Regions from separate parts of the Homo sapiens genome. Here all the other regions are linked to region 1. Evidence: promoter capture Hi-C in 16 types of primary human blood cells and fetal thymus (Javierre and others, 2016). All regions are on one chromosome and are shown on one strand. The core of a region is centred on a gene start or on the middle of the fragment in contact, and the rest is flanking DNA. Distances in the headings are between cores, read along the strand shown.

The links. The method cuts DNA at HindIII sites, captures the fragments that hold promoters and counts their contacts. A CHiCAGO score of 5 or more calls a contact.
Region 2: a fragment that was not itself captured here is called in contact with the fragment with the promoter of SNX20 in region 1 in 3 of 17 cell types (total CD8 T cells, non-activated CD4 T cells and naive B cells); the score reaches 6.0 in total CD8 T cells.
Region 3: a contact is called between a fragment that was not itself captured here and the fragment with the promoter of SNX20 in region 1, in 5 of 17 cell types (activated CD4 T cells, non-activated CD4 T cells, total CD4 T cells and 2 more). The highest score is 8.6, in activated CD4 T cells.
Region 4: a contact is called between a fragment that was not itself captured here and the fragment with the promoter of SNX20 in region 1, in 6 of 17 cell types (neutrophils, activated CD4 T cells, non-activated CD4 T cells and 3 more). The highest score is 12.2, in neutrophils.

What each region holds. Positions count from the first base shown.
Region 1 is chr16:50,679,758-50,682,921 of GRCh38, forward strand. SNX20 (sorting nexin 20) reads right to left here and starts at 1,555. Exons shown (of 4, transcript NM_182854.4): 1 at 1,433-1,555. The HindIII fragment of the contact is 15,976 bases long and covers 1-3,164 here.
Region 2 is chr16:50,558,320-50,561,321 of GRCh38, forward strand. The region is part of intron 3 of NKD1 (NKD inhibitor of Wnt signaling pathway 1); the gene reads left to right. Among named protein-coding and RNA genes, the nearest start is that of NKD1, 11 kb to the left of the region's middle. The HindIII fragment of the contact is 5,014 bases long and covers 1-3,002 here.
Region 3 is chr16:50,780,761-50,783,638 of GRCh38, forward strand. It overlaps CYLD (CYLD lysine 63 deubiquitinase), which reads left to right. Exons shown (of 19, transcript NM_001378743.1): 10 at 486-651; 11 at 1,565-1,706. Among named protein-coding and RNA genes, the nearest start is that of CYLD-AS2, 21 kb to the right of the region's middle. The HindIII fragment of the contact is 1,122 bases long and covers 770-1,891 here.
Region 4 is chr16:50,796,783-50,799,845 of GRCh38, forward strand. CYLD (CYLD lysine 63 deubiquitinase) reads left to right here. Exons shown (of 19, transcript NM_001378743.1): 19 at 1-3,063. The region is part of intron 2 of CYLD-AS2 (CYLD antisense RNA 2); the gene reads right to left. Among named protein-coding and RNA genes, the nearest start is that of CYLD-AS2, 5.0 kb to the right of the region's middle. The HindIII fragment of the contact is 3,258 bases long and covers 1-3,063 here.

The DNA of each region.
Region 1 (3,164 bases), core at 305-2,804:
ATTCTGACTGGTGCCTAAGTGAGACAGTGGATGGTTTACGTGATTCTTGGTGGCTGGGATTCTTGGGGGCCCAGGGCACTCCTATGCTCAGCACTTCTGTAAAATGGGTGATGGCGAGTGGCCTTGGCCTCAGGGGCCCCAGCCTTTGCAGATCTGCTTTCATGACCAGGCAGCTGGCTCCAGGTCAGAAGCAGGGCACTATTGGCCCAGAGACCCTGTAAGACCCTAGAAATGATGCCTCGGCTTGACACTCCAGTAAAGACTGAGAAAGCTGATTATAAAACCAGGCCTTAGAATAAAATCAAATTCAGCAGCCACAGTCAGCTCCCTTATGGTTGTCTCTTACAGGTTTCATTGGGAGTCACCCATTTAAAGAGGAGGGGGAAGGAAAGAGTTGTGCACTGGTGTATCCATGGGGCCTTGGGTAGCTTCCCATCCCTCTCCAGGCCTCAGTTTCCTCATCTGTGAAATGGGAAAGCAATCCTGTCACTCTAAAAGCTCTCTGGGGATAGCCACATAGACGGTTCCATGGCCCTTTCCTTCCCTCTCCTCACCCTCTGTAGCAAAGATTTCTTGACTTTATAACAAAATACTAAAAGTGTTGTTGCTGTTGGCCTGGGGGCCTGTAGTTGGCCCAGGGGACAGAGCAGCTTCCCAGCCTCCTCTGCCTTCCAGCCGTGTGTGCACAGACAGTCATTCTCCTCCTCCTGTCCCCAGGTGTCCTAACCACCCCCTCTCCAAGAGCTGACTGCCAAGTCCAGTCCTTCTTCTGCTGGGCACACAGAGGCCACACTATCTTTCTGAGGGCCTGCGGAGGACTTTTCATGGGGGATGAGCCTCTAGGGGGTGAAATAAAGCACATGGCCCACGCTGGGAGACAGAGATCCCAGGATGTTGGATGTGTGGCTGCCTCTCTTGGGGAAAGGGTGGGTACCCTCCAACAACTGGACGCTCACCTGAGAAGCCTTGCCAAAGCCAGGGGCTCCCAACCCAGTGTGTGTAAGAATCCCCTGGTGGGGTGGGGGTGGGATCCCAGGGGCTTGTCCAAGAGCAGGTTTCCTGGCTGCTAACATAGGAAGGTGCCATTGAACAGGCCTGGATTCTGCATTTTCCATGAGTCCTCTAAGGCTGTGCTGAGGCAGGGGTTCCCTGACACTGTTCTTTTGAGAAACACAGGTGTGGTGACTTATTCTCCAGGCCCAAGATGGGTTGTACAAGCGCCTAGCATTTCAAAAGGAATGGAGGTGATGGAAGGTCCAGGAGCTGTCCCTTCCTCTGCCTCAGTGTGCTAAGGAGAGCTCCAGACACAGTGGCTGTCACTAACTCTTCCCCCTCCCACCCTGCCCCCAGCAGGTGCCAGGCAGGGCCCCAGGAGAAGGGGACTCAGGCCACAGCAGGCAGAGGACAGCTGAGCTTGGGATCAAATACTGACCTCCAGTCTCCAGGGCTGTGTGTGTCCAGGGGTCCGGGAGGAGTGTCATATGGCCCCTTCGAGCTCTTGGTTCTCAGCTCCGGCGACAAGCCGAGGGGCTGCCACTTTCTAAGTTCCCCGTTTGAAAACAGGAAACAGGCTGTGTGACCTGCTTCTGATCGCCCCAGCCCATTGGCTGGTGAAACATGGTATATTGAACTCAACTGCCAGCCTGCCAGCTGTACCCACCTCTTCTTCCGGGTAGCGCAGGGAAGGGCAAGGCGGTGTGGGGCCAGCCCTGTGGGATTTAGCTCAGCCTCACTTTCCCTGCCGCCTTGCAGAGGTCTGGCTGTCCTTCGAGTCCCCGTTGATCTCTGGAATTCAGGCATTAGCTCCCAGAGCCCTTTAACATTCATTATTCTACTCTATGAGCTAGGCATGATGGGGGCCGTCATGCCCCTTGAACAGATGGGAAAACCGAGGCTTGGATCACAGAGCTGGTGGGACACAGAGCCAGTGACTGACATAGAAGAGCAGTGGGGTAGAATTACAGTTCCATCTGGTGCCTTTTCTCTGAGCAAAGCTGTATCCATCACCACCAACAGAAAGTCCCAGGGAAGCGAAACCCCAGGGCAGTGTGGTGTGATTCATGCCCACCCATCTTTGTGGCCTTGAAGGCAAGAAACAGAAATCAGACAAAAAAAAAAAAAATAGAACTTTGCTGGCTCGCCCAGAAGTTTGCCATGTGTTTTTTTTTGAGCCATGATTCCCTTCCTCCCTATTAGAGGCAGTCACAGTCCTGATTCAGATGGGGGTTACTTCTTGGCTTTTCCTTAGAAATTTACCACCTATGAGATCCCCAAACAATTCAGTTTCATTTTACTCATCTGTGAATCTTATATAAATTGAACCATGCATACTGTGTGTATTCTCCAGTGCCTTGCTTCTTTCATGCAACATTTATGGGTATAAGATTCACTGATGCATTTCTGTGTAGATACTTTTTTTCATTTCCATTGTTGTGTTGCTACATTATTATTATTATTTATTTTACTTTAAGTTCTGGGATACCAGTGTAGAACCTGCAGGTTTGTTACATAGGTATATATGTGCCGTGGTGGTTTGCTGTACCTATCAACCCATCATCTAGGTTTTAAGCCCTGCATGCATTAGGTATTTGTCTTAATGCTCTCCTTCCCCCTGGCCCCCACCCCTGACAGGCCCCAGCGTGTGATGTTCCCCTCCCTGTGTCCATGTGTTCTCACTGTTCAACTCCCACTTATGAGTGAGAACATGCTGTGTTTGGTTTTCTGTTGCTTCATTATTTAAATACATCACCATTTGTCATTTTTTGTTTTGTCTTTTGATGCACACTTGGGTTGTTCCTAGGGTGGCCATCATGATCAATGCCACTGATGATATTCTTACACATTTATCCAAGTCCATGTACTTATCTGAGGTGAAATTGCTGGGTCTCAGAGTATAGATAGCTTCAACTGTGCTAGATTACGCCAAATATTTTCCACAGTGGCTGTGCCATTTTGTATTCCCACCAGCAGTATATGAGAATTCCAGGTGCTCCACCTTCTTACCTGCACTTGATATGGTCATTATTATAATTATTTTAAAGATGGGGTCTTGCTCTATCACCCAGGCTGGAGTGCAATGGTACCATCATAGCTGACTGCAACCTAGAACTCCTGGGCTCAAATGATCCTCCCACCTCAGCCTCCTGAGTGGCTAAGACTACAGT
Region 2 (3,002 bases), core at 452-2,951, 120 kb before region 1:
ACACGAGTGAGTATCATATGGACTCAACATTGTGCCTAATACTTTCCATGCATTCTCTTGTAGAATCCTCACAACTGCCTTAGGTATTATTCCGCTATCGCATAGATGAGGAGGCAGGCCCAGCAAATTAGAGTCACTAGCCCAGCCAGGGAGAGCTGGATGCAGGCTGCATCCAAGGCAGAGAGTGCAGGCCAAGCAAAGGCTCATTGCCAGGAAGCTGTGCACAGTGTATTTCAGTCTGGTGGGAGAGCAATGTGGGAGGCACAGGAAGGGTAAGTAAAGATGTGGGCTGGGATGGGAGGCCGAGGTTGGTGGAGGCCGAGGTTGGTGGATCACCTGAGGTCAGGAGTTTGAGACCAGCCTGGCCAACATGACGAAACCCCGTCTCTGCTAAAAATACAAAAAAAAAAAAAAAAAGAAAGAAAAGAAAGAAAAAAAAAATAGCCGGGCATGGTGGCAGGCACCTGTAATCCCAGCTACTTGGGAGGCTGAAGCAGGAGAATTCCTTGAACCCGGGAGATGGAGGTTGCAGTGAGCCAAGATCGTGCCATTGCACTCCAGCCTGGGTGACAAGAGTGAAACTCTGTCTCAAACAAACAAACAAACAAACAAACAACAAAACAAAGATGTGGGCTGGGAGACTTTATGCTGAAGACCAGCATGTGCCCATAGAAGGTGCCAGAGGTGTGCTTAGAACTTGCAGAATCAGACTTCCTGGGTCTGAGTCCCAGCTGCACTTCTCCCCAGCTCGGTGGCCTTGGGCCAAGTGATGGCTCATCTCTGATTCTCAGTTTTCACATCTGTGGAATGGGTAGAGTAATGGTTCCTACCTCATTGGGTTGTTTTAAGGGTAGAAATGGGTTCATTTCAGCAAGTTAAAGAATAAAGGAGATGTCACCCCTTCTTTTGCAGCTTGCCAGTGTTGTTTGCTAGTGATCACCTGGATGTGTGCTCAGTGTGGTACCAGTGTGCTAAGTGCAGTGAAGGAAAAGGATGGGGAAGGAGAATAACGGAGGATTCTACTTCAGATTAGGGAGTGATGCGTAAGTCGTTAAGACCCAAAGAATAAATAGGAAATAGCTAGGTGGGGAAAGGTTTATTAAAAATATTCCAGGCAGAAGGCACGGGATGTGCAAAGGGCAAGAGGCATGCAGGGTTGGTGCACAGAGAAAGTGTTCAGCCTCCTTCTCGGTGTCTGACTTGGAACCACATTCCAGTCTCTGAGGTGTTAGAGCAGAACTATGTGGTGCAGCAGCAGGGAGTGGGCAGTGCCTGCTGGGCTGGGTGGTACCACTGTATGTTGCATCCCGTCATGAGGCCTTGTCTCCTTGCCGCAAGTCTTCCATGAAGTGTTACTGGTGTCTGTGGACTCCAGCTTTCTGGTCAGGTTGGAAGAGGTAGGGAGGAGAACCTCTCAGTCACAAGAAATAGTGTCACCCTGGAGCGGATTGGCTGGCCTGCTGGGCTGCCCAAGCCTTCTGGCCTTGAGCATAGAGCTGGGGTCCTGAGGAGGGGAGAGGCAGAGCATAAAAGGACCCTGTTAGCAGGATGGGGCTGTCTTCCCTCAGGCCACAGCCTCCCTAATGGGCTCAGGCCGGAGGATGTTTTTCTAACTTCAGAAGGCTGCGTGGGCTGGTGGGCCCCTCACTCAGAGGCCTCGGCTTGCGGTGGCTCCAGTGAGTGGGTTTGGGGGTGCTGGTGTGTGGTGCCATGCCCATTCCATGCCTGGTTTCCAGAGGGAGCCTTGTTCCAGGACAGTTTTTGACCCTGACTTTGTTGTTTTACCCTTCTTTCCCCCTTCAAAGGCAAAAAGATGATTGAAGAGAACTACTATAATCCAGGAACAAAGTTGCCTTTTCAGCGGGCACTGGGGACTTTCTCTGCTTCCTCCCTGCCCTGGAAAGTCCAAAGGCACCCACTGCCTCAGCTGGTCCTGGGCACGTGCCTGCTTTCTCAGTGGCTGCAGGCTCAGTGTGCCCGCGAGCTGCCCACTGTGTGCATAGCCCCGTGCTGAGTCTGGGAGCTGCAGCCCGAGGAGGAGGTGGTAACAGCGTAGCTGCTGCTTGCTGCGTGTCTGCTGTGTGCCAGGCTCTGGGCCAAGCACTGTTCATAGTGCTGGATTCTCAGAGCACTGTTATGAGGCCGCTGTTATTATTATGCCCATCTTACCCATAGGGAAACTGAGGCTTTAAAGAAGTCAACCATATTGCCCAAGGTCACTTAACTTGGAAGTGGAATCTTGCTTCAGCAAGATTCAAATTCAGATCACTCAGTGTGATTTTAGAGCCATCTTAAATCAGTTTAGGCGAGTTTTTTTTTTTTTTTCAACTGTATGTCTCAGCCCCATTCATGGTTCATGACATCAATTTAGTGACCAAAATGAAATAGAGTAAAAATATGAGAAAACATTATATATAGTAAGAGTAAATATTGTTTTGTGTAATTTTTTGTTCTAGTTAAAAAAAATGTATACACACACTTTACACACACCTATACCCAAACCCATCTATCTATCTATCTATCTATCTATCTATCTATCTATCTACAGCAGAGGCATATTGTAAAATATAATTCTTACTATAGGTCATAATCAGAGTATTAGAAAAACGCTGGTGTGGGTCACTGGTGCAGGCCCTGAGCCTGAATGCCTGGTTTTGAGCCCTGGCTCTACTTCTCACTAGCAGTGTGACCTAGGGCAACTTTCCTGACCTCTCTGTGCTTTCTGAGCTGTTTGGTTTGTTGACTTTTGGGCCTGGGTCAGTGCTCCCAGGGATGCTGTGGGTGCTTGCTGCTGGCTCACTCCCTTTGCTTAGGGAATGAAGAGGATGAGCAGTCCCATGGAGGGGGGGCCCATGGCTTCTCCCCTGAGAAGCCAACAGCAGCAGCTTCATCCCAGGAGAAACACAGACATGGCTCAGTCATCAGGGGTTGGACACAATGCTGCGCTGGGAACCCTGAGCCTGGGGGTGCCTCCAGCTTAGCTATGAGGTATCTATTATGAC
Region 3 (2,878 bases), core at 81-2,580, 100 kb after region 1:
TGCCCGCCTTGGCCTCCTAAAGTGCTAGGATTATGGGCATGAGCCACCACACCTGGCCAATTTAAATATATTTCTTTTTTTTTTTTTCTTGTTTGTTTCCATGCTAGTGAATACTATCTTATGGGGCATGGTGGGGAGGCAAGAATGAGGGTTAAAATAAATAGCCTTCTCCTTCCCTGCCTGTTTTAATGCTTGTAGAAATGGTGCGGGAAAGCCCGTTTAACCAGGGGAGGTTGAAGCATATATTCTGAAAGGAAATACAAGAAGGACTTCATGCTGGATTAAGGAAGTCACTTCTTAAATCAGTAGCTGTGGGCTGAAGCACTGATTACTCAACTCCTTTTTCTTGATGAGGTTCTCAGTACAGGTGCGAAGAGGGAGTGGTGAGAAAGGGTATACTAGAAACAGGTCTTAGAAACCTTAGTTCTTTGTATACTATCTCTGTAAGGCACGGTATAATGCATATTGAAGCATTTCTTTTTCAGGAAGATGAGTGTGCAGGCTGTACGGATGGAACCTTCAGAGGCACTCGGTATTTCACCTGTGCCCTGAAGAAGGCGCTGTTTGTGAAACTGAAGAGCTGCAGGCCTGACTCTAGGTTTGCATCATTGCAGCCGGTTTCCAATCAGATTGAGCGCTGTAACTCTTTAGGTATTTGGATGCTTTTTGTTTACTTAACAACCTGGAATGACTCTAATTCTAATCTCATATCATGTTATATTAGGTGATGGTGACAGTGTTTTAATATATTTCTTGCCAACGCTCATTAAGCTTTAAATCAGTAAAAATGTTGCATGGTGTATAAGAAAGTTGTTTTAAGAGGGGACATCTTAAAAAAGTATTAGGACGTGCGTTTGGGACTTATAAAGTGAATAATAGTGTGGTTTGTTTTTCTCTTCCTGTTGATGACAGACATTTAGTTTTCAGCAATACTAGTGGTAGAAATTGAAATGTAACCTTCTTTTTTTTTTTTACTGACTTCCCTCACAGTGTCTTGTTTACAGCAGTGAGTGTATCTTACAAAGAAATCAGCATTTTAGTGTAAGAAGTAGATTTCAACTGATTGCTGGAGGACAGCTCTCCTCATCATGTGTAATTGGTGGCAGTTTCCTGGTGCTGTTCCTTTCCACTTCTACATAATAGTGGAAAAGCATCTTGGGGCTTCAGCAGGTGCAAACAGGAAAGCCATCTTTATGAAAAACACTCTTATTATGTTGAAATAGTACTTTGGAATTTTCATTTTCTTTTCAAACTTGAAAGTGAAGCAACTTCAGATAAATAGTGAAATATTTGGGAAACATATTTTACTTGACAGATGCTTTTTACACATAATACTCTAAAGTGTGTTTTTAAATCTTGGAGGAAATGAAGTTGAAAATGAACAATAGCAATTTTTATAAGCCAAGTCAAATAGCAGTTAACCAAAGCCTACTTTCCACTTAAAGAAAAAATTTTGCATCAAAATACAAAAACATTTTAAAATGAAAAAATATTTATGGGAATACATATTGTAATAGTTTAAAAGAATTCTTTTCATTTACTTTTTTTAAAAAAATCTTTTCAGCATTTGGAGGCTACTTAAGTGAAGTAGTAGAAGAAAATACTCCACCAAAAATGGAAAAAGAAGGCTTGGAGATAATGATTGGGAAGAAGAAAGGCATCCAGGGTCATTACAATTCTTGTTACTTAGACTCAACCTTATTCTGGTAAGTTTAAAAAGAATGCAATAGGTATAGATAGTGCCATGAGGCAGGGACACATACCGGTGTGTGTGTGTGTGTGCGTGTGAGTGTGTGTGAAAGAAACTGCCATCTGCCTCTGAGTAGAGAAACTGGATGACTGTGGGTCAGGATTGAAAGGGAGATTTGCTTTTTATGACATACTCCTTTTAAGCTTTTGAATGTTGTCTCATGTTTCTGTGTCCAGAAAGGTGAATGATATTGGTACAATGGAATAGATATACAGAGGGTATCTGGGAAATCTTTGTGCATGTCTCAAACAACATAACTTGCAGTAAAGCCATTGGCTGTTATGTGCTGTATTTCTTTTAGTAGGTAAAGGCAGTCATAAAACTACTGTCTTTAAAAAAACGATTTTCAGTAGCAGCACTGCTGCCCTCATATATGCAATTTTTTCCAAAGTGGAACAACTTAAGATTTTTTTTTTTTTTTTTTTTTTTTTTGAGACAGAGTCTCACTCTGTCCCCCAGGCTGGAATGCAGCGGCACAATCTGGGCTCATTGCAACCTCTGCCTCCCAGGTTCAAGCGATTCTCTTGACTCAGCCTCCTGAGTAGCTGGGATTACAGGTGTGAACCACCACTTCTGGCTAACTTTCTTTTTTGTATTTTCAGTAGAGACGGGGGTTTCACCACGTTGGCCAGGCTGGTCTCGAACGTCTCACCTCAAATGATCTACCCGCCTTGGCCTCCCAAAGTGCTTGGGATTACGGGCATGAGCCACCACGCCCAGCCTTAACATTGCAAGGATCTTTAAGCTCTGGAAATTGAACCAAGAATCTTTAGGCTCTGAGGATTGTAGACTGGGCTAAATTGAGAGTAGCCTGCCAGTTCTGTAGCCATATGATAAGAATTAGGAAGTTAATATGGGATGTTAACATTTTTAAAGTAGGAAGAAGAATAAAGTGGCGGCCATTTTATTTGCAGAATACTTTGACAAAAACAAACCTTGTAGCATTGATATAATATTCTTTAGATTTCCTGATAAAAATCTATATTAGCTAAATTTTCTTTTTCTTTGATAACAGCAAGTTACTGCTGTCACTCGTTTATTTTTTTGAGAAGGAGTCTCGCTGTGTCGCCCAGGCTGGAATGCAGTGACGTGATCTCGGCTCACTGGAACCTCCACCTCCCGGGTTCA
Region 4 (3,063 bases), core at 361-2,860, 120 kb after region 1:
TGATCATATGATATTTTTGGAAGCATACAATTTTAATTGTGGAAGTTTAAAGCCTCTTTTAGTCCATTGAGAATGTAAATAAATGTGTCTTCTTTATGGACCAAGGATATGAAATCATTTTTCTTTTGTAGCTAACGGTTGCCTTGAGGAAGAAATAATTTGGTTTTATTAAGAGTCTACTCTCAATCCAGTTATTAGAGATGTACTGAGTTTGATTTGTTAATCCTTTCTATATACTGCTGATCTTGCATGTCTACAATCTGCTCAGTTTTTCTGTGTTTCTGCAATAGTGGTCAGAAAAATACTTAAATTCCCTTAATGGTGTTGTTTTCTATTTGTTCTGGTTTTGAGATAAATGAGTGATTCTGTCCCCAAATGTCCATTTTTGAAGTGATTTTCCTGGAGGATTAGGGTATTTAGCAGTTGAAGCTCTTCATTCATAGTAGTTACTGTCAGCTAACAGGTTTTTTAAGGCTTTTAACTATTAATATTTTATGGAATGGGGCAAAGTAAATTGATGAAAGAATTGGAGTGATAATAGTCCTTTACAAACATACAGTCCATAAGAAAATGAATTTGGCATATAGAATTATTACAATTTCCTGGGAGAGATGGATATTTAAACCTCTATTATTTTAGACAAGACTGTCTAGAACTTAAGTTTGATCTGTCAGCCAGTACTCCCATTAAATTCAGTGTAGTTTCACTTGATAGAATCAGATATGTTATCGAAATGTTAGCAGCAGCTTCATCCTCCTTCTGATTAAAGTAAGTAGAAATGGGATGTTTTGTTTAATAACAGCCATAGTGTGTGTTTAGACCACAGCGGATGTTGTAGACCAGGACCATAGATGATACATGTCAGTGCTGTGGAATGTGCATTCTCTGAGTGTTGTTTTGTGGTATCATTGTCTTTCCTGAATGACTTTCTAACTGTGCAGAAAGGCAGAAAAGTCATCATATGTATATGTCATATGACTTTATAAAATATTTAATGTGACAAAAAGTGGAAAGAATCTTTACAAACCCTGCAATTACTTTTTTAAAGGCACTTTTACTCTTTGGTTTTATCATTCCATTTTGCTAATATTTACTAGCTTTATAAATTACAGTAAGGTACAAAAACTCATCTTGTAATATTTTCATTTTTGAAGTGAAAAAGTACATATATTTTGCACAAGGTTTTATACTGCTAAGTGCTTGGTTGGGGTGGTGAGATGATGATTAGATCAGGGGTGAGGCTGAGAGACTCTGGGTTTAGGGCTAGCCCTGCCTCCATCTCCCTTGGGTAAAATGAAGGGTGTGGGGTAAAAGATGCATAAGGCCTTTTCTAGCTCTGACAGCCTAGAAGTCCAATCACCCTGTAATAAATATGTGTTGAATGAAGAAATGGGTGAATGAGCTTGTCAATGTGATTTTAAAAAATTGACTACCTGGAGGAATGATTAGGAATCTAAATGAAGCCAGCCCTCGGTATCTGCAGGTTTCTCATCCATGGATTCAACCAACTGCAAATGGAAAATACGATTTTTTTTAAAAAAAGGATGGTTACATCCGTATTGAACATGTACAGACTTTTTTCTTGTCATTATTCTCTGAACAATACAAGAACTCTTTATGTAGCATTTACATTTATTAGGTATTATAAGTAATCTAGAGATTATTTAATTAAAATATACAGGAGGATGTGTGTCAGTTATATGCAAATTCTGTACCATTTTGTATCAGGGAATTGAGCATCTTCAGATGTTGGTATCTGCAGGGATCCTGGAACCAAACCCCTGCAGATACTAAGGGCTGACGATCTAGGTAAGACTGGATTTAACAGTTGGAAAAAAAAAAAAAAAAGGAGAGAGAAGACAGTTCCTTTCCTGTAGAAATTAAAACAAAATACAAATTGAGGAAGCTCTGCTACCCAGGCTGTCATGGTAGAGAACTTGAAGAAGACCTGTTTGGATGGACACCTGGTTTCAAAAGTCAGGTGTGGAGACTGTTAAATGGGAGGGCCTCATCCATAAATGATTTCTGGCAACGTCTTCTTCAGGTGGAGCTTGACGTCTTTTTAATGTTACTTGGGGAGGGAGTGCTCATTAAGGGATGCCAGGGCCAGCTCTGGTGGTTCCTGGGGAGGCTGCGTCCTTCCCTGCTTCTGCATGTCATGAGGCAGCAGGAAGGTTTCCCCTGCACCTGTCTGTCCTGGCTCCCTCTGGGTAGCCCCCTACTGTTCTGTGCTTCAGCACAGCCTGGTTTGTCAAGAGGCACATAGTTGGGGCTGGGCTGCATGGCACAGGGGCTTATGTGCCTGCTGGTTATTTAATTTTCAGCCTTAAGTTTTCTTTAATATTTTCCTGTTGGCTATTTAAAGGTTTTGGTTATCTTTTATTCCTTATCTACAATCAAGATGACAATGTAATTGAATTATCTTATTTATAACACGGTTCGTGATTCATGATTCATGATTACAAGTAGAAAATATGTCATGTTCCTCACCTCCAAATAAATATGTGTGTGTCTGTGTGTGTGTATATATGTATGTGGCGGAGAGGGAGAGAGTGGGGAAGGAGAGCAGTGTTATCATACATAGAGAGGCTAAATGTGTCCCATCCCTCACTGTCAGCTTTATAAAGGAGTTTGACTCCATCCACAGAAGAATGTTTTATAAGACTAGGAAAACACGTTGAAAACTAGGATAAACAGCAACAAAAATCAACTAAATATGTTGTTACTGTTGCTAAGGATTTTCTCCTTAGAATAATTTAGGATTTTTAAAAATTTCTGTTTGCCAAATGCTGTAGATAAATGGCCAGATTCTTCCTATCCCTAGGATTCCTTTATTATTTTTTTTCACAGATTTTGAGAACAAGGGGGAGAGATAGTATGGAAGATTAAGATTCCATTAATCTTATAGAACTGTGTTGTCACCCAAATTCCTGCTTGTTTGAACATGGCATCTTCATAGATTCAGGATTCACTACCCTCTATAGCTGGATCTTGAAAATTATCTGGCCAGATAATTTTGCATCTGCTTGGATGATTGTAGACTGAGATGTGAGTGGAGGATAA